Regions from separate parts of the Homo sapiens genome. Here all the other regions are linked to region 4. The links are contacts of gene promoters, found by promoter capture Hi-C in blood cells and fetal thymus (Javierre and others, 2016). All regions are on one chromosome and are shown on one strand. The core of a region is centred on a gene start or on the middle of the fragment in contact, and the rest is flanking DNA. Distances in the headings are between cores, read along the strand shown.

Region 1 (3,513 bases), core at 496-2,995, 640 kb before region 4:
AATACATTTATATGCTCAGCCTCTTCTCTCAAGAGTCTTCATGGTTTCTTGATCTAGGATTGTTTGGGACACCATTTTCTAACACCCTGGAGATGTGGCAGCACTAACTCTACATATAGTACTTGTCATAAATCTTTGCATTCACTGCAATGTGTGATGGGTGACGTTCCCACACAGGGCACAACTCCCTAGATGCCTCCCTGCATCTTCCAGCAGTAGGAGCCATGACACAGAAAAGATAAACTTTGAGTTAGGCACAATCTCCAGGTGCTAGCCTACAGCTCCATACCTTTCTCTCCCATTGGTTGAGATATGCCCCTATGTATCAAAATTAGTGAAAATGGCATTCCAAGACCACAGCTCCTCACCTCCATTTGCAGTAGACTTCATGCCTCTAGAGATCGGCATGTCTAAAGTCAGAATCCACACAGAGAATGTTGTGCACACAGGTGAATGAAGGAGGGCAGCAGGCTCCCATCTCTCACACTCTGTATTCATCACTTCTTGTTACTGAACCTGGCCTCATATTCGGTCACCAGGGGCCACAGGGACTCTTTTTAAAGGGTTGGGAAGGAAGAGAGTCTTAGGATCCCCACCCGCTCCTTCACCTCCTTTGAGAAAATACAAATCAGGGGAACAAAGCGATTTTACAAAGAGCCATGCAACATCAGTATCATTATGCAAAACAGTACAAGGTAGAAGCCCAAGCCAGGACCCAAGCCAGTTGGCAGAGAGGGGTGTCATCTGGACACACAAGGCTTCAGCAGTGATGAGTCATGTATTGTGAATGGACGAAATCGTGGCTTTTAGTCCATGGAATGAATCTGGGCAGAGGATAAAGCCAAAAGATGGGTGCTACTTAGCAAATCAAAGGAAATGACTTTAAAAGCCTGGCTCTCTGATTTATAGAGAAGCTTGTTGCTATGTGATGAGGCGGAGGAGAGTAACAAAAGGGTGTTTGAAGATGTAACATATGCAGATTGCACCCAGTGGCCTCTGGAGGATGGGACAGCCTGCCCTGGTGATGTCTCCCAATGATGTTGTCTGTAAAGGGTTATGGATTGGTGAGCTCTGAATAACCCTTAGGTCAGCGCTCACTACTACTTACTTTCCTGAGAAGCCCAATCTGGACTGAATTCTCAGATTCTGTATTTCTTCTTGATAGAACTCCAATAGCCTGTGTTTCACATATGCACGTCTGATCCCTATAGAGGTGTATGTTCAGCTTTTGTTCAATGCTCAGGGGACTGGCAAAAACTCATTTTCCCAAAATTCTAGTTATAATCACTTTGGATTGTTCCACATTAGGTTTTTCTTAGTCTCAGGGGTCTATGTATCTTCTGTCACAAATTTTGGGAGAAAAGTTTTGGGATCTCAGCAGCCATGTGTCTTGGATCCCTAGTACCAAGAACTATCTGAATGTGGAATGTGTAATATAACCATTTTAGGGACAGGACTTTCCCCTGGCATCTTCTGATTTAGCCCTTGGAGAAACTCTGTTTTATTGTATGAATACCTCCACATCTGTATTTTCTGAGATACAAAGGGAAAAATACACAATGTCAGATTTTTGTTTTACATCTTAATTTCAACTTCTTGCCCGGTTTCTAGGAATTTGAATCCTTCTTAGTTCTAGCAATGACACAGTAGTTATCCTTGGGGTGGAGGATTTGGAGGTGGTCAAGGTGAAGAAACAGTTTCTGGAGTTGAAAGAAGCTGATGTTGAGAATAGGCTTTATACTTTATAGTGAGGTTGATCTTAGAAAACTGTCCTCAATGGCTTGTTTATTTATTTTGTAAAATTAAGAGTACCCACCTCCCAGGTTGGAAGTAAAGATTAAAAGGTATCATTGCTCAATCCCCTAGCTCATAGGGTGAAGGCTCATGACTGACTTTAGAATAAAGGAAGCAAGGTATGAAGAGAGCCCACAGAGGCTCTGATCACTCAATGTCCTTTGACTTTCATGACCAAGTTCTTATTTGAGGTTCAGTAAGATTATTGCTCATTTCTCTTTGTTTATTTCTGGCTTCTTGAGCTTGCCCTTCTTGGTCGAGATAAGCCATGGTTTTTGGAGTCATCCTCATTTTCATGAGCTTCTCAGATACCTTGTTTGAAACATCACGTCTACCCAAGTTACAGTTGTTCCCCAATGGCAGGAACTATTTTGTGCTTAACCAACTATATATCAAGCATCAGCAAGGTGCGTAGCATATGGGACGTAGCCAGGGGATGTGTTTTGAGTGACTGGATTCATCTAAGTCTTGTTGCTCCTCAAAGTGAGTCTGAAAGGCAACCAACTAAAGAAAGAAGAAATGTAGGACTTCTTGATAACCCAAGGCCATAACATCCACCAATTCCAAGACTCAGTTTCTTCCCTGGATAGGGAAGGCTGGTTGAGTCTTAACCCAAGTGAGAACCATTGTCATCACCGGGGTTAGTCCTCCTGCTACACCACTGACCAACAGGAAAGTTTGTGTCTCCAGAGTGGACACATCCATAAAGAGGCCAAACCCAGTCAAGGTCTAAGCATCTGATGGCTATAACTTTGCTTCTTTGAAAGATAATAAAAAGCTTCTGACCTCCCATCAACAGCCAACCTGATTTCAAAGAGCCAAGAGGCCTCAGATTCGTCAACATTCCTTTAACGAGCTGAGAAACTTTTCATGGTAAACTCAGCAGCTGAGTAACAGGATGATGGCACCACAACAGGTAGATAATCAAGGCAGGAGGTCAAAGCATTGGAGCCAACACCCGCCCAGGATGGGGTATAAAAGGGCTGGGAGGAGAGGAGGCTTCAGTCTCAGTGGTTCAGCTTTCCCAGCTGATCTGAAGCTCCTGTGCAGCCTCAGCCCAACACCATGACCTCTTCCTACAGCAGCTCCTCATGCCCTCTGGGTTGCACCATGGCTCCTGGAGCAAGAAATGTCTCTGTCTCTCCCATCGACATTGGGTGCCAGCCTGGGGCAGAGGCCAACATTGCCCCCATGTGCCTTTTGGCCAACGTGGCACATGCCAACCGAGTCCGTGTGGGGTCCACTCCCCTGGGCCGCCCCAGCCTCTGTCTGCCGCCTACCTGCCACACTGCTTGTCCCTTGCCAGGGACCTGCCACATTCCTGGCAACATTGGAATCTGTGGGGCCTATGGTGAAAACACCCTGAATGGCCATGAGAAGGAGACCATGCAGTTCCTGAATGACCGCCTGGCCAACTACCTGGAGAAGGTGCGCCAGCTGGAGCAGGAGAATGCGGAGCTGGAGGCCACACTCCTCGAGAGGAGCAAGTGCCACGAGTCCACCGTGTGCCCCGACTACCAGTCTTACTTCCACACCATCGAGGAGCTCCAACAGAAGGTGAGGTGTGGGATCGCTTGGGTGTGCTGGGTCTGAGATGGCAGAGGCAAGACAGGAGGAATCCATGTAAAGCTCAGAGAACTTTGGGTTCTTGGTTTCTCTTGGACATGATCATAGACACCACACGTGGAGAAGGAGCCTAGGGCATGATGCTTTGTGTGT
Region 2 (3,916 bases), core at 1,364-3,863, 720 kb before region 4:
GAGGCTGAGTCTCTTTCCACTGGGCTGCACTGCCTCATTCTAAGGAGAAAAGGCCAGCTCCACAGATGGCCCCATCTGGCTGCAGTGGGCAAAGGTCAGAAACTGGCACAGCATCCTGGGCAGGCTGCCTGGGGCAGGGCCCGGGGCTACAGCCTGGGCTGGGGCCAGACAGAGCTTTATCTTCGCAAGGCCATCCCACCTGGTGCTAATGAGGAGGCTCCGGGCCCCACCCAGATCTGGAGCTCACAGTAGCGGTTTGGACTGAAACCAGGGATTTGTGCGTGGGGCAGTGAGGGGGGCAGCTGCCGCCCCTGGCCTGGGCCTGAGAGTATAGAGAAAGCCACCTCGAGGGGCTGCTGGAGGAGAGTCAGGTGCAGAAGGGGATCTGGCTGGGGTCCAGCCCTTCCTCACCCTGGGGTGAAAGGCGAGTAATTGTTCTTGAGTTAATTGCTGGGGCCACAATGTCTGCAGAGGCTTTTAATGAGCTCTGGATGATCTGAGTTTGATTATTTTTCTTTCGGAGGAAAAGACAATACCCTCCCACCCATGAGACAATACCACACTGTCTGTGCCCAGCATTGGAGGCCAGGCTCACTGCGAAGATGGATGAGAAGGAACCCACCCCCAGCCTTGCTGGCTGGCAGTTCCCCTTGCCAGCCCAGCTCAGATGCAGGAATTTGGGGTCTGCAGGAAGGACTCTTTCCCTGTGCCCTGTTTGGTTGAGGGTGTGAGGACCTGTTTGAGTCCTGGCTTTGCCCCTTACCAGTGGTGCCACCTGGCACAAGTTGCTTCACCTCTCCAAGTTTCAATTTCATTCTTTCTGAATCTTGGGTGGGGGTCACCCTCTGTTGTGAGGATGAGAGGAGGTGATGGATGCAAAAGTGCTTTGTAAATCACAAAGTGCAGGGTAGAAGTAAAGGATTATGCTATTATAGCAAAATAAGAACCTAAGAACAACCTGCGTTGCCCCATAGGAGCTGGCTATGGAAGGTCGATGCCGTTGAGCCTAAGAACATGCTCAGGCTCACAGGGCATGTTCTGATGCCCAACGACAAAGCCCCTCCTGGTGAGGGCACTCAGGCGCAGGTGCCGGTCATGCACCCTGGCCCCTGCATGTCTGGCACCTGGGTGGGGATCCAGGAGGGGGCAGGATGGGGGCTCTTGGGCCACAGGGCTTCCCTGGAAGTGAGAGTTGAGAGCGCCCCTTGCCACAGGGAAACAGAGACTTAAAAAGGTAAATGTCCACAGTCTTACCATGGTAATTGGTAGGGTCAGGATTTGAACCCAGGCCTCACAGTCTTACCATGATAATTGATAAAGCCAGGATTCAAACCCGGGCCTGAGGGACTCCAGAGCCCTGTCCACTTCACCATGCTGCAACCTGGGCTAGGAATCCTCCTCCTGAGTTTCTGTAAGCCCTGGGGCCAGGTCCAGAGGGCTGAGCCACACCTCCAAGTGGCACTGCCCACAGGTATCAGGTGTCCCTGGAAAGGTGTCCCTGAGCTGGTGGCAGAGAAAAGGGCTCTCCTGAGTGTTCAACTCCCCGTCTGTGTGAAGCAATGCCTTGGTCTTCAAGATCTCCGGTGTCTTCCAGCCTGCCTGCCAGTCTCCCTTCTCTTCCCTTCCACAGCATTCAGGCACATAGAGCCTTCTGCAGCGGCCCGTCCCCAGCCAGCACTTGACAGGACAGATGGGGGCTAATCTGGCCCTGCTAAGCAGCGACATGCCTCTCCTGGAGAAGGCAGGGGCTTCCTGGAACTTGCCCCAGCCTTATCAGCGGAGGTTTGCCCCAACACATCCCAGAAACGAGCAAAGGTTCAGCGCCGTGCAGTTGGCAGGTGTCGGGATCATCAGTCATCCCCTTGTCAGTCCCAAGCCTGCTGGGCTTTTGTGAGGGTGCCAGGAACACAGGCTGGAGGATGGCAGGAGGGGAGTAGAGGTGGGAGGAGGGGAGTCCATCTGCAGCACCAGGTAAGGGGATGGATGCTGGCTCCTCTGGTCACCTCAGCTGGAACACTACTCAAGGTCCCTGGCTCCTGTCCTCCACCTGCCCCCAGGGGCCCTGCATTCCCATCCCCAGGGCCTCCACTCTCCCTGAGCCCTGCAGTCTCTCACTCACTCACTCACTCACTCATTCACTCACTCACTCACTCACAGGGTTTTGAGTTGGATAACACAGCATAATGATCGGCCAGTGGACTCCCAAACTAAGAACACGGAGCTGTCCTCTTGGGGAGAGGCTCAGGGCTCGGGGAAGTGAAGTCCAGCTGAGGGCACAGTTGGCCTGAGCTGCTCTCAGTACAGGCAGAGGCCTTGGTAGCTGTGCTGTGATGAGAGTTCGCTCCCTGCTGCTCTCTTCTGGCATGGAGAGATGAACCTGTAATCCAAGTGTTAAAACCGTGCCCTGGGGAAAAACACTATTAATTCTGAATCATCTCTTTTGTTGCATTAAAAAAAAATAGAAGAGAAAAACTTCACATGACCCACTCAAGGTGTGCAGGCAGCTGTGTTTGTCAGGAAGGCAGAAGGAGTTGGCTTTGCTTTAGGGGAGGAGACGAGGTCCCACAACACCCTCTGAAGGGTATATAAGGAGCCCCAGCGTGCAGCCTGGCCTGGTACCTCCTGCCAGCATCTCTTGGGTTTGCTGAGAACTCACGGGCTCCAGCTACCTGGCCATGACCACCACATTTCTGCAAACTTCTTCCTCCACCTTTGGGGGTGGCTCAACCCGAGGGGGTTCCCTCCTGGCTGGGGGAGGTGGCTTTGGTGGGGGGAGTCTCTCTGGGGGAGGTGGAAGCCGAAGTATCTCAGCTTCTTCTGCTAGGTTTGTCTCTTCAGGGTCAGGAGGAGGATATGGGGGTGGCATGAGGGTCTGTGGCTTTGGTGGAGGGGCTGGTAGTGTTTTCGGTGGAGGCTTTGGAGGGGGCGTTGGTGGGGGTTTTGGTGGTGGCTTTGGTGGTGGCGATGGTGGTCTCCTCTCTGGCAATGAGAAAATTACCATGCAGAACCTCAATGACCGCCTGGCCTCCTACCTGGACAAGGTACGTGCCCTGGAGGAGGCCAATGCTGACCTGGAGGTGAAGATCCATGACTGGTACCAGAAGCAGACCCCAACCAGCCCAGAATGCGACTACAGCCAATACTTCAAGACCATTGAAGAGCTCCGGGACAAGGTGAGTCCTCGGATGTCAAAGAGAGGGGAGCAGGTGGCTGGTACCCTGTACACAGCTCTAATGTCAGTGTTACTGCTGACTCAAGGAAATCCTTTCCTGCCCAGGCAATGACTGTCTGGTATGTAATCTCAGCAAATTTGGAATGCACCTGCTGTCCAGGTGCAGAGGCCAGTGCACATCTTCTCAACTTGGTGGTGCTGGGGGAGGGAGAGAGGGGTCTTGGGAATCTGGTTAGGACCAACAGGGGCACAGGTGGGGGCAATTATAAAGAGCCAGAGGCAGTAGCTCACACCTGTAATCCCAGTGCTTTGGGGGGCCAAGGTGATAGGATTGCTCGTGTCCAGGATTTAGAGGCTGCAGTGAGCTATGACTGTGCCACTGCACTCCGGCCTAGGTGACAGAGTGGAACCTGTATCTAATTAAATAAAAATAATTAAAAAAAAAGAGCAACTCGCCCTCCCTACCTCATGCACCCTGCAGGCTTCTGCATAAAGTATTCCTTTACCTCTTTTGCAAGAATGGGATTGGAGTGTGGCCTCATGAGTTCCAGATGCTAGAACCTCTTGTCTTTTCCTATAAAGAGGTCTTTTGTGCCAAAAGTACTGTTGGGTCTTAGGAGACCTGGGAACTCATTACACATTCTGCCACCCACTCACTCACCATTTTACTCCCTAAGACTGGGTTCCTCATTCGTAAAATGCCTTCTTAACTGCCCTCCAGGTTGCTACTGGCTGGAATGTTCT
Region 3 (3,583 bases), core at 407-2,906, 550 kb before region 4:
CAACAAAGACTTTATTTCTAGAACAGGCTCAAGTGTAATGTAGTAATTATATTGGAACAGGAGCCTCCTAGGCTTTTTTTTTTTAATAACTCATTGTTCCTCTAGAAGATTTGCAAGAATTTCCTTCTGAAATTTTAAATGTAAATTTTATTTTGTTTATTGTGCAGAAGTAACATATATTTTCAAAGAATTTGGAGAGAAGAAAAAAAACATTCATAATCCTGTCATTTAATAGCATCCAGTGTCATTGTGGTGTGTTTTCTTTAATCTCTCAATTGTCCCCATTTTAATAATAGTTTAATTTTGTTGTGACTATCTTTTGTGTACCTTACTCTGGATAAGCATATTGCTGTCGAGTAGGGTCACCATTGTTTGACCAATTGTTCTAAGTTGCTCCAAACAGATGGGATATAATCTATATCTGATGGGATATAATTATGTTTAAATTACTCCAAATTGTTGGTATATAATTGTATCATCAACTTAGAAATAATTGAAATCAGAGAGTTAACAAGAAACTGTACTATTGCTGAATTCTATCTTTATTTACACATTGACTCATAATTCTTCTTCAACACAGCATATCTATGGTTAACAAGATGTTTTTCTCACTGCCCTTGATTTCTGTCCTTAGGTAATAACAGATCAGATTGTTTGTGAAATTCTTCAACATTTCAGTAGAATGGTGATTGGGCTGATAATGCAGTGGGAATCAGAAGATCTGGGTCCTAGCTAGATGATACTAAGCAAGGCATTTCTCCATTCTGAGCCTCAGTTTCCCCTTCGTAAAACGAACGGTTTGGATGAGTTGACCATTAGGATCCCCAATATCTTGTTCCAAGATTTTCCCTCTCTCTTTTAACCATTTTCATATTTAGGATCTATGTTAGGAGGTAAGAGGGAGGAAGAGAAGAGCCAAATGCAAAGCCATCTGGTTTTTGGTCTGTAGCTGTAGCTGGGAGGCTTGGAAGCTGCTTGGATTGGTAGCTGTAGCTGGGAGGCTTGGAATCTGTTGTCTGCTTTATCCTCTGCTAGCAAGGACATAGGAAGCCCCTCCTCTTTCTGGCCAATGTATGCCTCCTCAGGCCCATACTTGAATTTTTTCCTCATTGCCTCTTTAGGATATCAAATAAGGCTCATCTTACATCTTGTGACAAAACAGAAGTGGTGTCATATGCACGGTCAGTTCAGATTACTCATGCTTCTTGGATAATTGTTCCTAAATAATAAACTATTACGAATCATCAAGTTCAAACAAGTCTGGCATCTGCGTAAAGCCCACTCCAATTATTGTATAAAAGTCTGTATTGGTAAGATCAAAGCTCCAAGCTTAATAATCAGATATATAAATTTATTGCAGCAGAACTTCTCTAAGTAATGAACATCTCAATTCTGTGTGTTTGAAGTCTTGGTTTACCGAAGTTCACTGTGGGCATTACTTTAAGAATGTGCACAGGCGCTGCGTACAGCAGGCATACCTGTGTGACCCTGGAAAGGTCCTGGTAAATTTCTGGTCAAGGCAGCCAATACCCTCTCCATGGTCCTGATCATGTGCGGCCCCTTTGCTGCACTTGGCACTTCTAACATCACCTCCTCTTGGAAGCACCCTCCTTCCTGCCCTTCTGGGATGCCATGAACTTGTTTTTATCATTTTTTTCTCACCATTTCTCCATTTATCACAGATTCTTTTTCCTTCTCCTGATCTCTGATTGGGAAATTCTCCAAAGTTTGGTCCTCAGCTCCTTGTTGCTCTTCTCTTTGTACTCTCCCTTGGCCCAGTTCTCTAACTCTCTCACTTGTACTAAACCTTATCTGTATCATCATCCCTGCCATAAATTCTAGTCTTGCATGGACTGTTGCAATAGTCTCTTTGCTGAACTCTTTGCCTCCAATCTTTCCTTCATTTTTCAAAAACAGATAAATATTTGCTAAAACATTTCCTAAAACACCTTTTGTCACACCACACTTAGGTTCAAAAGCTTATACTGGCTCTACAGCTTCTGGGGAAGTCCAAGCTGCTCCACTTCACCATCGAGACCCCCTACCATAGGGTCCCCATACAATCCCCCATAAAGCTTTAATTTCTAGCACTTCCCTTCACAACTCTCCCCTTCCTGCTGCCTAGACTTACCCTGGTCCTTCAACCATGCCTTGGGCTTTCCCACCCCATTCCTGTGTGCACATTATTCTCCTCACCTGCACTTCCTACTTTTCTCCCCTCTGCTTCTTAGAAGCCTCCCTATCCCAGCACAAATCCATTCATCCATTCCTAAGAGCCTCCAATCCTGGAGCTGCTCGCCCTCCCCAGTGTGTAAACCACTCAGTTATCACTTGTCAACTTCTGCCTCAGATTATTATTTCCTGTTCATCCCTTCATCACTCTACCCACACCCATTCAACAGTGCCTACCAGGTGCCTAGAGCTGGGGATTCAAAGACAAACTAGACCCTGCCCTTGCCTTCAGGGACCTCAAATAGAGACAGAGAGACAAGCACATAAGTCATGACAGTGTCATGCTCAAGGTAAAAAGAGAGCTTGGAGAGGAGAAAGGGACGGCCTGTCTGAAGAAGGGAAGGAAGTAAGCCATTTATATTTAAGCCAAGTGTTGTGATGAAAAGAAAAGTGATCTGCTTTGGAATCCTAGGTCCACAACTTATTATCCTCACCCTCTATGCCTTGGTGTTCTCATCTATAAAATGGGAATTATACAGTTTACCTTTAAGAGTTCTGGTGAGGAATAATGGACATCTAAGTTCTGCATGTTTGAGGATCATGTTTGTAAAAAGGATCTAGTTTGTGAAAAGTGTCCACACTACCTTGGGCTTGTGCAGTTTCTTAACAAGTAAGAACTTCTTCTGACCATAGCATTGAGTCCTATTTTCCACCCCTCCCAGTGTCTATTACATCGCCCTGGATGAAATTGTCATAGTGGATATCTATTATTTGGTTGATTGACGTCATCATGGACATGAAAAAAGCCCATCATATCAGGAAACATGGCCATCAGGAACTGTCCCAGAAAGGATCTATTCCTCTTTCTGAGAACCATGAATTTGGAATTTGGCACTTGGAAATGTGACCTAGCAAAAGACACAGGGCAAGAGCTATGCTTTTCCATTTCACCAAGGAGAGCCAGAGCTTGCCAAAGAGTTAGGGGCCTCAAGCCACAAAGCAGAACAGCAATACTGTCTCTTGACCTGCTGCACCCCACTGAAGAAGGCCAGGGCTTTCATGAGTCCAGGTCTTTGAAGTCACACCATGAAGCTCTTACATCATGACACACAGCATGGAAGAGGAGTCCCGACTTAGCGAGAAGCCCAAGTAAAGTATTTTATGAGGGGAGAGACTCTTCTGAAGAAACACAACAAATGGAGGGAAGGGCTTTTGACAATCACCAAATGAGCAAAAAAAAAAAAAAAAAAAAGGGGTTGTCTTACGTGTCCACACCCTCCATGGACGAGGTATAAATGCTCCCTGGAGGAAGGAGACCCACCGCTCTACAACCTGGAGATTTTGGACTCTGTCTTCAGCTGGACACTCCCTCCCTGCACCATGTCTTACAGTTGTGGCCTGCCCAGCCTGA
Region 4 (3,828 bases), core at 371-2,870:
AGATAGTTCCTGACCTCCTACTCTCTTGCCTTTCAGGTCCAATCCACTTCTGACTTCTTGTTCCAGTGACTGTTGGTCCACTCCCATGACTACTCTGTGGACTTTGGTGACACCTGGAGTTGTGCCTACTTTAAAATTCTAAATTCTGGTTTCCACTATCCAATTTTAGCCTGTCATCCTTCACCTTTATCAATCTCCTCCTCACACTCCGCCTGCTCCATGACCTCATAAGGATACCCAATGACTCACCCTCTGCCCTTTTCTTCAGTCCATCTGTCCCTCTGGTTTTACTTTCTTCTTGCTATATGATCATACAGTCAATCGCCTCAATTGTTTTCTCAAGAACACCAGAAATTTCTTTGCCACTATTTCCTTCTTCTGGACCTGTCTTCAAATCCCAAAACCCACATCAATCTGATCATCATCCTTTCTATTCCTGCACCAGGATTACTTCCAAATATGCAGTTGAACATCATTATAAATGAGAGCTGGACCCTCCAATTTTCTTTTACTCATTGCTAGTCAAGTATTTTTCCAGTTCAGTATACATATTCTAAACAGTCATTCTTGCTATCAGTCACCTTCATCTGGAACATTCTGGCAACCCCTCAAATCCAGTTGGTCCAAACCTAAACTCAGTGTCTTCCTCCTCCTCTATTCCCCATCTCAGTGAATATTATGAGTTCCCAGAATCTAAAATTAATTACCTAAGAGTTATCCCCAATTCTGCCTTATTCCCTACTCTCCAAATTCAATCATATTACCATATGCTCTCAAAGCCATCTTCTCTGCATCCCCACTGCCTTCATCCTTCTCACCTGGACCATTATTCCAACCTTGTAATTGACCACCTTGTTTCATTTCAACCTGATCATTTTGCCCTCTGCTTTTTACTTAGGATTCATTACAAACTCTTTAGACCAGCACAGAAAGCTAACCATGATCCAGCCCCTGTCTGGACCTGACAATAGATTTCTTAAAGATTGTAATCACGCATTTTTCACTTCTGCATTTAGTTAACACTATGTCTTTCATTTTAGCACTTAGCATAGAGCACCAAACATCATAACCATGCTATTTTAAACAAAATAATAGGTCAATATTTGTGTCATTGTCCAAGATAATAAATAGATGTTATAATCATGGTAAGAACAGAGATGTCACTAGCCTCTGTTTTCTAAATAACACATTTTTTTCTGGTGGGATAAAATATCTGTTTCTGTAATTAGCAGTCCTTTATACCCCTCCATGGTAATTGAGACCCTACTGTACCTCACAGAACTCTATCATAATCTTACTTAACTTTATAAAAAATTTGATAATACCTGGCGCCAGATAATGACAGTATATGCCTAGGGTCTAGATGAAAGGAAAGGATTACTCACTCAAAATTAGAAGTTAAATTAATAAACTTAATATAGAACAAACCCTATTATATTTAAGATAAGAAATAGCCCAAAGCAACACCGAGGGATGTTAGACATTAATTATTTTTAAAATCACCCAATTATACATAATTTTATGCTAATCTAAGTGATGCCATTTTGCTTTTGGCATGTATAACTCAAATAGGAACGCCCCAATAATGATATATAAAAACCCAAAGAAATTATCAGTGCATGATATTCTGTTCTCTTGGGACATTACAGTTTTGCATAGACAAGGTGAACATTTCTCAAAACACCATGTCTCTCCAATTTTCTAATGGATCCAGGCATGTTTGCTTAAGGTCTGGAGCTGGATCTGTCAGACCCCTCAATGGAGGTGCAGGCTTTGCAGGCAGCAGTGCATGTGGTGGCTCTGTTGCTGGAAGTGAATTTTCCTGTGCCTTGGGAGGGGGCTTGGGCAGTGTTCCTGGTGGGAGCCATGCTGGTGGTGCCCTTGGAAATGCTGCTTGTATTGGCTTTGCTGGAAGCGAAGGGGGACTCCTCTCTGGAAATGAGAAGGTGACCATGCAAAATCTTAATGACCGCTTGGCATCCTACCTGGATAATGTGCGAGCTCTGGAGGAGGCAAATGCTGAATTAGAGAGAAAAATCAAGGGTTGGTATGAAAAATACGGACCTGGATCTTGCCGTGGACTTGATCATGACTATAGCAGATATCACCTAACAATTGAGGATCTTAAGAATAAGGTGAGAAATCACAGATTTGGAACTAACCCAAGTATTTAAAACTAAGAAATACCTAACAAAAGACATACAATAAGAAATGCTTCATGACTGTTATAACTTGTATTTATTTATTTAGATAAACAATTCTTCCTACTATTCAAAAATGGGCCCTTTGATTCATGAATTTTAATGTAGTTAAAATGTTATTAGTTCCATTGTTTATGTTGAAGTACATTCATAGGCATATGAATAAAAAAGTATTGTAGTTCTAAATTTAGGGGAATATATGAGAATAAATAAAACCATGTCTTTAATTTTTAAAAGTTAAACTTGAAACATTTTGATTATTACATAAGGAGGTGAAATTTTTATGCAAAAACTTGAGTAACCTTTTTCATTTCCTGAAATAATGAATCACATAAAAGCATACTTACTTGTTGTGTTCTCTGTTTTGGTTTATTCTAGATTATCTCCTCCACTACTACTAATGCTAATGTCATTCTGCAGATTGATAATGCCAGACTGGCTGCTGATGATTTCAGGCTAAAGTAAGTGACAGAAGAAAATCCTGCTCTAGAAAAAAGTTTCTATTTATTTAATTTGTTAAATAAAATTTCTATTTCATCCCAAGTAGAATGAACTATCACCTAAAAGATAAAAGGAAGCAAAGGATTTGTATTATAATGTTACAATCAACTTATACATAGTTATTATATTCCTGGGACAAAATATCAATATATTTCTCTGCCTGCCTAGAATACTGCCAAGCACAAAGTAGATGCTCAGTAAATCATTAGTCAACTAAGGAAAAACGTTAACTAAAATAAAATTCCAAAATGGTGTATTTTTATTTAACTAGGTTATGCTATTGGAATTTGTGTGATGAAATAACTTCCAATTATCCTGTACAGAATTGAGTGGGGGTAATGCAGGAGCGCTTTCTTCATATATTTTTATACTATTTACAGTCCTAATTCAATTTCTAATTTTCAGTTTAAAGCAATTGGGATTGAATATTTCTGTTTCTTGGGGTAGTCTTACTGGCACTGAAATTCACTTAAATGCCCCCCAAGGTATGAAAATGAGCTCACCCTTCACCAAAACGTAGAGGCCGACATCAACGGATTACGGCGAGTCCTGGACGAGCTGACGCTCTGCAGGACCGACCAGGAGCTGCAATATGAGTCTCTGAGTGAGGAGATGACATATCTCAAAAAGAACCACGAAGAGGTAGGAGAAGCTTTACCTGTAGTCCAATCACAACTCTGTACATTTTAAATACTGGGCAGGGGTTGGGGGTTAAAATCACAATAGTAATTCAGGTTCATTGTTATAATTTGCCAACGGATACAGACAGATTAGTCTAATAATACTACCTACTACGAGGGGATGTTAAAAGGCTTCAATGAATTAATACATATCACACGCTCAGAACAGTGCCTGGCCTATAATAATCACTCAATAAATGACAGCGGTCATCCCTAGGATGAATGCCTATGAGGGCCAGGATTTCAGGATTTTTTCTACTGTTCTATTCCCATCAACCTGACATTTAGTCAGTAACTATATGTTGAGTAACTCTCCGGTCTTTAAATCCCTTTCTCATTTAAAAGAATAAATTACTTCTCTTGGGGTGCTATGACTGTTTTTGGTGGTGGTGGTAATTTTAATTAACAGGTCCCTAATTTTTTTTGTTTGTTTTCTATTGCTTTGT
Region 5 (3,824 bases), core at 81-2,580, 660 kb before region 4:
ATTTTTTGAGGGCTCCCATGTGGCGCTAATGTGCAGCCAGGTTTGAAAACCCCTGTTCTAAATGATGCCGGCAGGGAGGTACTTGGGAAATCTCAGATCCAATCCTGAAGGCAGACAAAGGTTGCAGAAGAAAGGAGGGATTTAGGATCAGATTTACGAACAGAAACTGTGGTTCCATAATGTACCAGCTGTTTACCCTTGAACAAGTCATTTGACCTTTCTGGGCTTCCGTTTCCAAAGTGACTGGTGTAGGGAGGGCTCATTTCCAGCATCAAAGGGAGATTTGGCTCTTCTTGGTTCTTTCTGAAGCAGGCCATGGTAAACAGCTCCCTTCCTCATGGTTATGTCTTCCTTTGCCTTAGAGGGACTCCCTGGAAAACACGCTGACGGAGAGTGAGGCCCGCTACAGCTCCCAGCTGGCCCAGATGCAGTGCATGATCACCAACGTTGAGGCCCAGCTGGCTGAGATCCGGGCTGACCTGGAGCGGCAGAACCAGGAGTACCAGGTGCTGCTGGACGTCCGGGCCCGGCTGGAGGGCGAGATCAACACGTACCGGAGCCTGCTGGAGAACGAGGACTGCAAGTACGCAGGCCCAGCTGAGGCTTAGAGAGACGTGGGCAGGGATTCTGGGAGGTTATAGGAAGCAACTGGATCTACCCTTGAGGGACCATCAGCTTAGAACCCTGTCCTGACTATGGAGCCATTAAGAAGCTGGTATGCTCTGAAGGAAGTCAGGCAGTGGTGTTCATGCTGCCATCCTGAACCAAGCCCCTCGGAGACCATTCTATCTCATTCCAAGCTGGCAAGCTCCTTCTAAGTGCCCACCATGGGGCAGGTGCTATGGAGGACACCAAGATAGAGGAAGACAGGGCATTTGCCCTCCTGTCATTTCCATATGTTTAGGGAGATAGGCAGACAGGTGACTGGAGGTCATGGCCTGTCCAGAGCTTAGGATGAAAAGCAGCTTTATTAATAGTACCTACACAATCCTGCTCCCACCTCTTACCCCAGCCTCACCTCATAGCTCCATTCCTCTCAGAACGGAGATTTTGGCATGTCAGCAGGACAATAGGTAGCCTTGTGTAATTGAGCCCTGGTGGGGAGCAGGACAGGAAAGATCAGCCGGGGCCCATTTATGGAGAACAACACGGGTCATACTGGGAAGGGAGGGCTTTAATTTATAGGTGAGTGGAAATTGTTTTGAGGAGGAAATGAGAGAATTTACTGTGTGTCTTCTCCACTAGATGGTAAACATCTAGAATGCAGAGACATTATAATACAATTTTATTCCCTGTACGTGGCACATAGTAGATGCTCAGTAAATGTCTCTCAAGCTCAAAGCTGTTCTTCAGGAAGATGGCCCTGATAGCAGCAGGAAGAACTGAGTAGAGGGAGGGGAACCAGGCAGGGAAACTGTCCAGGAGGCCCTGGCCACAGCCTAGGTAAGCAATAGGGAGGGCCTGAGTTAGGGCAGCAGAGGCATCAGCTCTAGACACTGTGCAGGTAGAATCAGCAGGACTTGGTGGCTGTCTGAATGCAGGGTACCTCTGGGCCATGGACACCCAGTGGGCTGACGACTGTTGTAGCTGTTTCTTATTCCGCATTTGGCATTGCTTCTCCATCATTCAGAATCTATAACTTCAGGGCAAGTGTTGTGTCAAACATTTGCAAGGACCAGGCCATTAACATGCATGAATGACGTGGGTCATACGGAGATGGTAGAAAAGCAGAAAGCTCTTGCCTTGTCCAATCCAGGCAATGGCATGCCCTCAGGGCCACTTCTACTGTGTGAGAAGCAGGTCCAATATTGCTGATCTTCCAATAGTTCCAGGGAAGCTGAGAATCTGGGTTTTTAAAAATGTTAAATTCTCCTGATTCTTAAGTATTTTCAAAAAATTAAAGAAAATATATAGTGCCAGGCAAATGGAACACATTTCAGGTTGCACATGATCCTCAGGCCTCCCATTGGTTCTCTGAGCTACTGGGTTTCCATCCAGCATCCAGTGTGTTGTTCCTGGTTTTGAGTGCATGCCTGTCAGTCTCTGAGATCATCCTTTTTCCTTTCACCATGTATTAATTCTTCATTCATTTATTGTTTTGTCTGATCCAAATATTCTTATTAGGTGCCTATTCTATGTGAGGTATGCAGGGTGGGCATGGGTCTGTGGCTGCTGGCCTCACTGCTTGGCCGGGGAGACAGACCATAATAGAATGATTACTACTCACGATGAAAGGAGATACATGTACCATGGGGGCTTTGTCTCAGAGAGGTGGGGGAGGCTTCAAGGAGGACGTGAGAGTTGAGTTGAGCTCTTAAACAAGAGAAGAAATGTAGGTGAGTGGAGAGGGAAGAGGGTTCCAGAGATGTACGGCACAGGGCACAAGCCCTGTGGCCTGAGCAGTACAGTCCCTGCAGGAGCTGGAAGAAGGTCAGAGTACCTGCAGCTCCCAGAGCAATGGAGCTATCAGGTGAGGCTGGGGCAAGAGGTGGGAGCAGGATCATGCAGGTCCTATTAAGGAAGCTGCTTTTCTTTATTTTATTTTATTTTACTTTAACTTCTGGGATACATGTGCAGAACGTGCAGGTTTGTTACATAGGTGTACATGTGCCATGGTGGTGGTTTGTTGCCTATCAACCCGTCATCTAGGTTTTAAGCCCTGCATGCATTAGATATTTGTTTTAATTTTCTCCCTCCCTGCTCCCCTCACCTCTCGACAGGCCCCAGTATATGATGTTCCCCTCCCTGTGTCCATGTGTTCTCATTGTTCAACTCTCACTTATGAGTGAGAACATGCAGTGTTTGGTTTTCTGTTCCTGTGTTAGTTTGCTGAGAATGATGGCTTCCAGAGGAAGCTGCTTTTCATCCTGAGCTCAAATGGAAGCCACTGAAGGTTTTAGGGAGGGGAGGGACATAATTGGATTTGTGACTGTAGAAGATTGCTCTGGCTACTAAGTGGACAGTGGTTAGGAGGGGCCCAAGTGGGGTTGGGGAGATCAGTTAGGAGGCCATGAGGTGACTCAGGCAAAGATGGCGGAGGTTGGGACCAGGGAGGCTGGGCAGAGAAAGCACGGAAGATGGGGTTGAGAGGCATCCGAGGGGAGAATTGGCAGGACCTGTGGCCGAGTGGGCCTTCTCTACTAATCCTGTTTCTCTTTGACTTTCTCCTGCAGGCTGCCCTGTAACCCATGCTCCACTCCTTCCTGCACCACCTGTGTGCCCTCCCCATGCGTGCCCCGCACCGTCTGTGTGCCACGCACTGTTGGCATGCCTTGCTCACCCTGCCCCCAGGGCCGCTACTGAAGTCCCTTTGTGCCAGTGGATCCTGGAGGGCCTGGGGCTGGGCAGCCTGGTATTCAGTGGCCACCAGAAGAGCAGGGCCAGCCCCGGTCAGCAAGGAAGACCCTGAGCAGGACCGTGGATCACCTGCAACAAGCTCTGATACTCCAGGGGATACTTAAGCCCTCATCACTTCAAAACTGCCTCTTTTTTCCATGGGTGAACTGTTCTCTTTGGTGATGTTTCTGGTTGTCTGTGCTGCCTCAAAGAGCGTGTGTTCTTAGTTAACTGGCAAATAGAGCTGTACTCAGTGGCCTTGCAAACATGTCTGTCTCTGTTTGTCACTTACGCTGCTGCATCCACAAGCCAATCCTACTCAATTGGGCTTAAGAGGAACGTGGGCAAATTCTGTATTTATTTTTATGCTCCTTCTGCTTCCATAGAGGCTTGAGAGGTGTTCACTAAAAGGGCCCGCATGCCATAAACCAGTTAAAACTAATCAATTACTCTAGAGCCAAGTAATAAAAGAATAAAGAGAGGAGGGA
Region 6 (3,870 bases), core at 1,022-3,521, 580 kb before region 4:
AAATTAAAAAACATTTAAATAATCAATGGGTCAAAGAAGAAATCAAAAAGGAAATTAGAAAATATCTTGAGACAAATGAAAATGAGAACACAACGTATCAAAATTTATGGGATGCAGCAAAAGCAGTACTAAGAGGAAAGTTTTATATATGTATATACATAAACCTATATCTAAACATACACACACGCCTACCATGTACCTACAAAAATTAAAAAATTAAAAAAGATAAAGAACAAACTAAGCTCAAAGTTAGCAGCAGGAAGGATATAATAACACTTTTTGCTCTAAATTTTATTATGATACTTACGATAAAACTTAGAGCAGAAATAAATAAAAATAGAGACTAGAAAAACAATAGCAAAAAATCAATGAAACAGAGTTTTTTTGAAAGACACAGAAAATTTACAAACCTCTAGATAGACTAAGAAAAAAAGAGGAAACACTCAAATAAATAAAATCGAAGATGTGCTTTTCTGCTCCTCTCATGCTGCTTTTGAAATTCAGATGCAGCCTTCTTTAAATGATTTGTATTGTGTTCCACAAATAATCTTTTGGGACTTCTTTCTGAAACATGACTTTGTTTCCCTGCGGAACAAAGGCAAGGTAGAGTGACAGGGAAAAGAAGTGAGGTAGGGAAGGCTATTCTGTGAAGAGTGATTATTGGGCAATAGAGAGGCTCCCTAGGTTATGCAAGAGTCAAAGGGTAACTGGATCCCAGAGGTGATAGAAGCACACTTATCAGAGACAGTGTCTACTTGTAGGGACAACAGAGTAAATCTGCATTCTCATGGGCACTGTGGCTTGTCCTGGAAGCATCTCAGGCTGGCATAGTCATACCTCTAGGAGAGTTAATACTCTAGAAAGAGGAACAAGTCTAGAAATAAGATGATAGAAATTTCCAGAGAATTTGAGAAAAAGCCACCATGGATACAAAGATACCTCTGAGCACCCTTGCTCCAATTTTCGTTTCTTGGTGAGTCTGCAGTATTATGCTTCATATTCATGCTTCAGTGCTGCCATCTGAACTCTCACTGCTCCAGACTGTTTCCAGCATATTTTTTCTTCTAGATATTTCTACTCTTGCTCATCTTTAGAGAGGCTGTTGCTTTAGTACAAGTTGGCAAATTTTTTAATTTTAGGGCTTTGTGGACACTATAGTCTCTGTCACAACTACACAACTCTGCCACTGTAGCACAAAAGCAGCCATATACAATAGCTAAACAAATGGGCATGGCTGTGTTCCATTAAAACTTTATTTACTGCCGGACGCATTGGCTCACGCCTGTAATCCCAGCACTTTGGGAGGCCGAGGCGGGCGGATCACGAGTTCAGGAGTTCAAGAGCAGCCTGGCCAACATGGTGAAACCCCATTTCTGCTAAAAACACAAAAATTAGCCGGGTGTGGTGGCGGGCACCTGTAATCCCAGCTACTCGGGGGGCTGAGGCAGATAATTGCTTGAACCCGGGAGGTGGAGGTTGCAGTGAGCCGAGATCGTGCCACTGCACTCCAGCCTGGGCGACAGAGTGAGACTCTGTCTCAAAAAAAAAAAAACAGAAAACAAACAAACAAAAACTTTATTTACAAAAATTCAGCAGGGTAAACTTGACGTGTGGGCTGCCATTTGCAGATGCCCTCTTTTAGGTATACTCCCATCCATTCCATTGGTTTCCATTTTACTTTCTCATTTCTCAACCATGAACATGCCATTGTTTTCAGTTGCTCCATGTGTTGGCAAGTTCCCTAAACCCCAACGAATAGTAAGGCTCAGGATCATTTCGGCGAATACAGGTTGAGTTTCTGCTATAAAAACAAATTGAATGCTGAAACATGGATGAATGTGGGAGGAAAGAGCTACTTGGAAGAGTAACTCTCAAAGCTCTCTCTCAGAGCTCTCTCTCTGGGGAGAAAGAACAGTGGCGGAAACTCCTGGGTGAGGAATCCCTGATTCCCAAACAACTCCACCCCATGTCCCTGGCTGTCCTCCCCTCTGAGTAATGCAGACAGCCTTTTGGGGCTGTGATGATTCTATCTCCTATGAAGCCATCTGATGAAACTCTGATTTCACCAACCACTAGCACCCAGGAAGAGCCTGGTGTGACATAAGCTGAATGGAATAATTTTATGGGTTGAGGGGGGACTCTTTAGAAGCATCTAACTAGCATATTTTGGAGAAAAATTAGCTGAAGCATTAGGAAAGGAAACTATGCTGTATGCCAAGCCCCCACCCACAATTAATGGTATAAAAGGACTGCAGAGGAAGGAGAGACTCAAACCTGCCCACATCCACCTCCAGCAGCTTACCTGCTTTTCCATTACCTGTTCCAGCACCATGTCTTACAGTTGTTGCCTGCCCAGCCTGGGCTGCCGCACCAGCTGCTCCTCCCGGCCCTGCGTGCCCCCCAGCTGCCACGGCTACACCCTGCCTGGGGCCTGCAACATCCCCGCCAATGTGAGCAACTGCAACTGGTTCTGTGAGGGCTCCTTCAATGGCAGCGAGAAGGAGACTATGCAGTTCCTGAACGACCGCCTGGCCAGCTACCTGGAGAAGGTGCGTCAGCTGGAGCGGGACAACGCGGAGCTGGAGAAACTCATCCAGGAGCGGTCCCAGCAGCAGGAGCCCTTGCTGTGCCCCAGCTACCAGTCCTACTTCAAGACCATTGAGGAGCTCCAGCAGAAGGTGAGGGGGTTGGCCATATGGGGGGCCAGCAGCAGCTGGCTCTCTTTGAACAGTAAGACATTTTCAAGTTCAAGTGTACCTCATGAGAGAAATTTCTTTTCAGATTCTGTGTGCCAAGGCTGAGAATGCCAGGCTGGTGGTGAACATTGACAATGCCAAGCTGGCCTCTGACGACTTCAGAAGCAAGTATGTTGAACTTCAAGGTCCCTATGGTTCTTTCATGGCCCTAGGGACCTACTATTGCCTGGAAGAGAGGAGAAAGCCATTTCTCTCTATTTCTCCTCCTAGGGCTGGTTATGTAAAATTAGTTTCAAATAGGGAACTAGACTCATGTGCTGCCTGCTCTTTGGTCTATACTGGTTTTTTTTGGAAGTGTTTCTTAAACCACAAAATTCAGAGATTGAAATGAATTGTTCTTTGGGAATTGATTTGGTGGTATATTAGCTAACAAAACCGAGAACACAGTGAGAGACTTCATCTCATGTGTGCCTGTGGGCTCCTCGTGGTGTTAGGTGAGTCAGGGAACCTCTTCAGCCTATCCATGGACAGCTTGACTGAAGCATATGGAAGAGAAGAGGCAGAAAACTGTAAGTTCAAGAAGATTCAGGCCAATTCTACCCAAACAACACATGAGAGGGGAAGGTGGTTTTCTTTCCTGACTTATCCTCCCACTCCGACACGTGCAGGTACCAGACGGAGCAGTCCCTGAGGCTGTTGGTGGAGTCGGACATCAACAGCATACGCAGGATCCTGGATGAGCTGACCCTCTGCAAGTCTGACCTGGAGTCCCAGGTGGAGTCCCTGAGGGAGGAGCTGATCTGCTTGAAGAAGAACCATGAGGAGGTATGAAACAAATTCACAAAAGCAGGCCTCAGAACTAAGCTACTAGCACTGGGAATCAGGAGAGGATTACTGTCTGGATCCCTGGTCTGGGACCCTTCTCTGAGGAACTCAAGATGTTCTCAGAGAGTGACGGTGCTACATCCATATCAAGGAGTGGAGTGAGCTGCTCATTCTTCAGCGGCTGGGTGAGGGTTAGGCAGGTGTTGGAATTACTGAGGAGGGACATCATTCATTGAGCCCTGCTCTCTGCTGATCACTGCTAGGTCCTGAATTTGGTGGTGGAGATGGAGGGACAAAAAAGAAATAAGACATGGCCCTTTTCTTAAAAGAGCTCACAGTCTAGTATAGA
Region 7 (3,569 bases), core at 815-3,314, 680 kb before region 4:
AGAATGGCTTTTGGCCCAGAAAACACTTTGTTCTTGGCCAAAGGGGCTGGTTAGTCTGGACAGGTGCTGCTCACCTACACAGAGATGCCGGATCCCCTTCCATCTCTGAGTCTCAGTTTCCTCATTTACAAAAGTAGGAATAGTAGGCTGGGTGTGGTGGCTCATGCCTGTAATCCCAGCACTTTGGGAGGCTGAGGCAGGCAGATCACGAGGTCAGGAGATCGAGACCATCCTGGCTAACACGGTGAAACCCCGTCTCTACTAAAAATACAAAAAAAAAAAAAAAAAGAAAAATTAGCTGGGTGTGGTGGCGGGCACCTATAGTCCCAGCTACTCAGGAGGCTGAGGCAGGAGAATGGCGTGAACGCTGGAGGTGGGGCTTGCAGTGAGCTGAGATCGCACCACTGCACTCCAGCCTGGGCAACAGAGTGAGACTCCATCTCAAAAAAAAAAAAAAAAGAAGTAGGAATAGTTAAGATTGACTGTGTTTTCCTTTCCCCGCTCCCTACTCTCTTTTGTTTCCTCCCATTCTTTCTTTCCTTTCTTAACACAATTCACCGTGGGAAAAATCACTTAATTAATTAATTAATTCATAGACATCTAGAAGCCCTGCACTGTGCTTAACACTACAGAGATTTAAAAAAAAAGTACAAGGTCAATCCTTGCCCCCATGCTTACAGTCTCCCTGGGAAAATAGGGCTGAAACACAAGACAATCAGAAGACGTCAGTTAATTGGAGGCCAAGAAATCTACCAATAGTCACTGCCTTGGGCATTCAGAGCTGGGAGGGCACAGCAGGGCTGGAGCAGGGGCCAGACTTCGGGGGAAGGCCTGGCCAGGACTGGGCCCTTAGAGGCAGTGGGGTGGGCCTGTGGTTTGGAGCTGCAAGGCCTGGGCTTTAGCCTCCCTGGGAAGCCTGTGTGGACCTTGGGTAAGCCATTTTCTACTCTGACCATTGTCTCCTTCTGTAGGAGTCAGCACCTTTCTATCCACGACTGTGTTGGAGGGTGTGTGTGAGGCCTTAAAGAAGATAGCATGCCTTGAACAGTTGTACAGATGCTTTTTCAGCTGTGATCTGGGACAGGCTCCTGAAACAGTCCAAGCCTCCTCTATTTAATGGGCTATTGGTGATGCCAATCTCATGAGTTTGTGTGAGGACTGAATAAGAGAATGCATAGAGACAGATCAGCGTGGGGGCTGGTGGGTACTAAATGCTCAGTGAATGATGGTTGCTACCATCAGCCGGGTTATTGATAGGGCTGTGTGAAAAGAGCTCCAATTCAGGCAGCCAGAAGGAAGGGCTTCTCCATTTCTCAACCAGGGCTGGGGAAGACATGCCCTCCTAGATGTCATCATGGGCAGGTGTCCAATTAACTGATCTCTAGGCATTGTGGCTAGAACTTAGGCTCTACAACCTGCACAGACTTCCTGGCAAGGGAAAGAGTAGGGAAGTGTCCATCAGGGCTCTGCAGTATCTAGGGTGATAAGCTGTCCCATTTTACCGAGGACTGAGGTTTCCCTGGCATATGGAACTTTCGGAACTAAAGCCAGAAAATTCCTGGGGAAACCAAGAAAATTGGTCACCTTAGCCATATTTTCTGGGCCAATTCAAGAGCCTTCTGTGTCTCCCTGGCTGCAAGACCCCTGCCTTCCTGCACCAACCAAGTTTACCCTTCCATCTTCTGGGAGCACCCCAGAGACCTCCTCTACTCCCTCAGGCCAATAAAAGAAGTCAAAGTTGGAGAAAGTCAAGACAGTGGCTGAACTCCCATGCTTGCTTAATGCGGAGGCTGAGGTCTGGGCTCAAATGACAGGTCCCTTTGAAGAACTGACAGGGACTTGGTCTTCCCAGTGATGTGGGGTGGTGGAGATGAGTCTTGACATAGTAATGGGGCTCCTATTTTATGAGACTGGTAAATTTTCACAGGAAACTAAATAACAGGTTAATGAGGGGTTTTAATAGAAAGTGGTGTTAACTTTAATGAGGAGAAAACACTTTGTAAAGGCCAACCAATGCCCACTGGGGCAGAGATATAAATCTGGGGTAAGGAGCTGCTTCTCTGCTTTGGGGTGTCTGGCCTCAGAGACCTATCAATTGCATCTGAGTTGCAGGGGCCATGGCTTCCAAATGCCTCAAGGCCGGCTTCTCTTCTGGGTCTCTCAAGAGCCCAGGAGGGGCCAGTGGGGGCTCCACTCGTGTGTCCGCAATGTACTCCAGCAGCTCTTGCAAGCTTCCAAGTCTCTCCCCTGTGGCCAGAAGTTTCTCTGCCTGCTCAGTGGGTCTGGGCAGAAGCAGCTACAGGGCCACCAGCTGCCTCCCTGCTCTCTGCCTCCCTGCTGGAGGCTTCGCTACCAGCTACAGTGGGGGTGGGGGCTGGTTTGGGGAGGGCATCCTCACTGGCAATGAGAAGGAGACCATGCAATCCCTGAACGACCGCCTGGCCGGCTACCTGGAGAAGGTGCGTCAGCTGGAGCAGGAGAACGCCAGCCTGGAGAGCCGCATCCGTGAGTGGTGTGAGCAGCAGGTCCCCTACATGTGCCCTGACTACCAGTCCTACTTCCGGACCATCGAGGAGCTCCAGAAGAAGGTAAGAGGTTCAGAGTGGCTTTGGATTCCCAGGAACTTTGTGTCACCAGCATTCATTGGTAGTTCTGTTCCCATAGGGCATGTTGGAAGTCACCAAGCATGTTCATCTCTGTGGCCTCATTTGCTCCTCCCAATAACCTTAAGAGGGAGGTATCATTAGCCCATTATACAGTTGAGAACACTGAGATTCAGGCTGGGTAAGCGACCCAGATGGCAGTTACTGGAGCCAGAGCTTGAACATCAGGTCTATGAATGAACTCTGTGACCTTTGGTGGTATTGCCCAATCCTCTGAGTCTTCTGAGTTTTCATTTCCTCTTTTATTTAAAGTCAGGGGATTGGGTTTGATGTATTTAGTGCAGTGCAGTTCAGGCTTCCCATAAGTAACTCAGGGAAGAAAATGCCTGTCAGAGAAGTTTCTTTCTTGCCAAGGGCCCATATCCACTTCTCGCCTGGCCCAAAGTTATAGCTGGCTCCTGTGAGGGACCATTTATGACCAGAGAATCCCGGGGTATGTTGTTGGCAATGAAATGCCCTGGGCCCCCAGTAGGCCTGGGAGACAGGGAGATTGGAAGAAGCCTCATTTCATCATGCCAGGCCTTTCCTGTTGCATTTTCATGCAGCTATCTAACCTGAGTAACAGGTCACAGATACACTGCACTGGAAGAAACCCTGGACTTTCCATAGTTGATCCCTAGAGCCTGCCCATAACACTCCAATGCACATGGAGTAGCAGAGGTCTAGGATGGGTGACTTCCTCCTTCCAGAGTCAGCCCTTGTCAGCTTTAGGGAGCTCCAACAAGTGGAATGTCCTTTCTTGCAATGAAATAACTTCTTCATATCTCCAGACTCTATGCAGCAAGGCTGAGAATGCCAGGCTGGTGGTGGAGATTGACAATGCCAAATTGGCTGCAGATGACTTCAGGACCAAGTGAGTTGTCCTGCTTGTCATGTGGTTGGGGGCTGCTAGAACTGGACACAGGT

What was found. The method cuts DNA at HindIII sites, captures the fragments that hold promoters and counts their contacts. A CHiCAGO score of 5 or more calls a contact.
Region 1: a fragment that was not itself captured here is called in contact with the fragment with the promoter of KRT28 in region 4 in 1 of 17 cell types (neutrophils); the score reaches 5.6 in neutrophils.
Region 2: the fragment with the promoter of KRT15 here is called in contact with the fragment with the promoter of KRT28 in region 4 in 3 of 17 cell types (M2 macrophages, M1 macrophages and M0 macrophages); the score reaches 7.5 in M2 macrophages.
Region 3: a contact is called between a fragment that was not itself captured here and the fragment with the promoter of KRT28 in region 4, in 3 of 17 cell types (M2 macrophages, megakaryocytes and erythroblasts). The highest score is 5.2, in M2 macrophages.
Region 5: a contact is called between a fragment that was not itself captured here and the fragment with the promoter of KRT28 in region 4, in 2 of 17 cell types (M1 macrophages and M2 macrophages). The highest score is 5.9, in M1 macrophages.
Region 6: the fragment with the promoter of KRT34 here is called in contact with the fragment with the promoter of KRT28 in region 4 in 6 of 17 cell types (M0 macrophages, M2 macrophages, M1 macrophages and 3 more); the score reaches 9.4 in M0 macrophages.
Region 7: the fragment with the promoter of KRT35 here is called in contact with the fragment with the promoter of KRT28 in region 4 in 6 of 17 cell types (M2 macrophages, M0 macrophages, M1 macrophages and 3 more); the score reaches 11.2 in M2 macrophages.

Annotation. Positions count from the first base shown.
Region 1 is chr17:41,440,268-41,443,780 of GRCh38, reverse strand. It overlaps KRT38 (keratin 38), which reads left to right and starts at 2,798. Exons shown (of 7, transcript NM_006771.4): 1 at 2,798-3,351. The coding sequence starts at 2,860. RefSeq lists an enhancer at 2,642-3,142. The HindIII fragment of the contact is 1,658 bases long and covers 917-2,574 here.
Region 2 is chr17:41,517,587-41,521,502 of GRCh38, reverse strand. It overlaps KRT15 (keratin 15), which reads left to right and starts at 2,613. Exons shown (of 8, transcript NM_002275.4): 1 at 2,613-3,173. The coding sequence starts at 2,676. RefSeq lists enhancers at 1-160, 1,274-2,273. The HindIII fragment of the contact is 23,808 bases long and covers 1-3,916 here.
Region 3 is chr17:41,350,737-41,354,319 of GRCh38, reverse strand. It overlaps LOC105371778 (a long non-coding RNA gene), which reads right to left and starts at 2,823. Exons shown (of 2, transcript XR_001753056.1): 1 at 2,717-2,823; 2 at 522-1,898. It overlaps KRT33A (keratin 33A), which reads left to right and starts at 3,492. Exons shown (of 7, transcript NM_004138.4): 1 at 3,492-3,583. The coding sequence starts at 3,553. The HindIII fragment of the contact is 650 bases long and covers 1,332-1,981 here.
Region 4 is chr17:40,797,751-40,801,578 of GRCh38, reverse strand. KRT28 (keratin 28) reads left to right here and starts at 1,620. Exons shown (of 8, transcript NM_181535.3): 1 at 1,620-2,135; 2 at 2,580-2,662; 3 at 3,188-3,344. The coding sequence starts at 1,686. It overlaps LOC105371776 (a long non-coding RNA gene), which reads right to left and starts at 245. Exons shown (of 4, transcript XR_934753.2): 1 at 15-245. RefSeq lists an enhancer at 2,442-3,641. The HindIII fragment of the contact is 3,919 bases long and covers 1-3,356 here.
Region 5 is chr17:41,459,589-41,463,412 of GRCh38, reverse strand. It overlaps KRT32 (keratin 32), which reads left to right. Exons shown (of 7, transcript NM_002278.3): 6 at 363-583; 7 at 3,174-3,824. The coding sequence ends at 3,303. Among named protein-coding and RNA genes, the nearest start is that of KRT32, 5.9 kb to the left of the region's middle. RefSeq lists an enhancer at 3,221-3,722. The HindIII fragment of the contact is 8,593 bases long and covers 1-3,824 here.
Region 6 is chr17:41,380,707-41,384,576 of GRCh38, reverse strand. KRT34 (keratin 34) reads left to right here and starts at 2,271. Exons shown (of 7, transcript NM_001386014.1): 1 at 2,271-2,678; 2 at 2,782-2,864; 3 at 3,365-3,521. The coding sequence starts at 2,331. RefSeq lists an enhancer at 2,079-3,278. The HindIII fragment of the contact is 8,651 bases long and covers 1-3,870 here.
Region 7 is chr17:41,479,646-41,483,214 of GRCh38, reverse strand. It overlaps KRT35 (keratin 35), which reads left to right and starts at 2,064. Exons shown (of 7, transcript NM_002280.6): 1 at 2,064-2,588; 2 at 3,434-3,516. The coding sequence starts at 2,118. The HindIII fragment of the contact is 10,492 bases long and covers 1-2,233 here.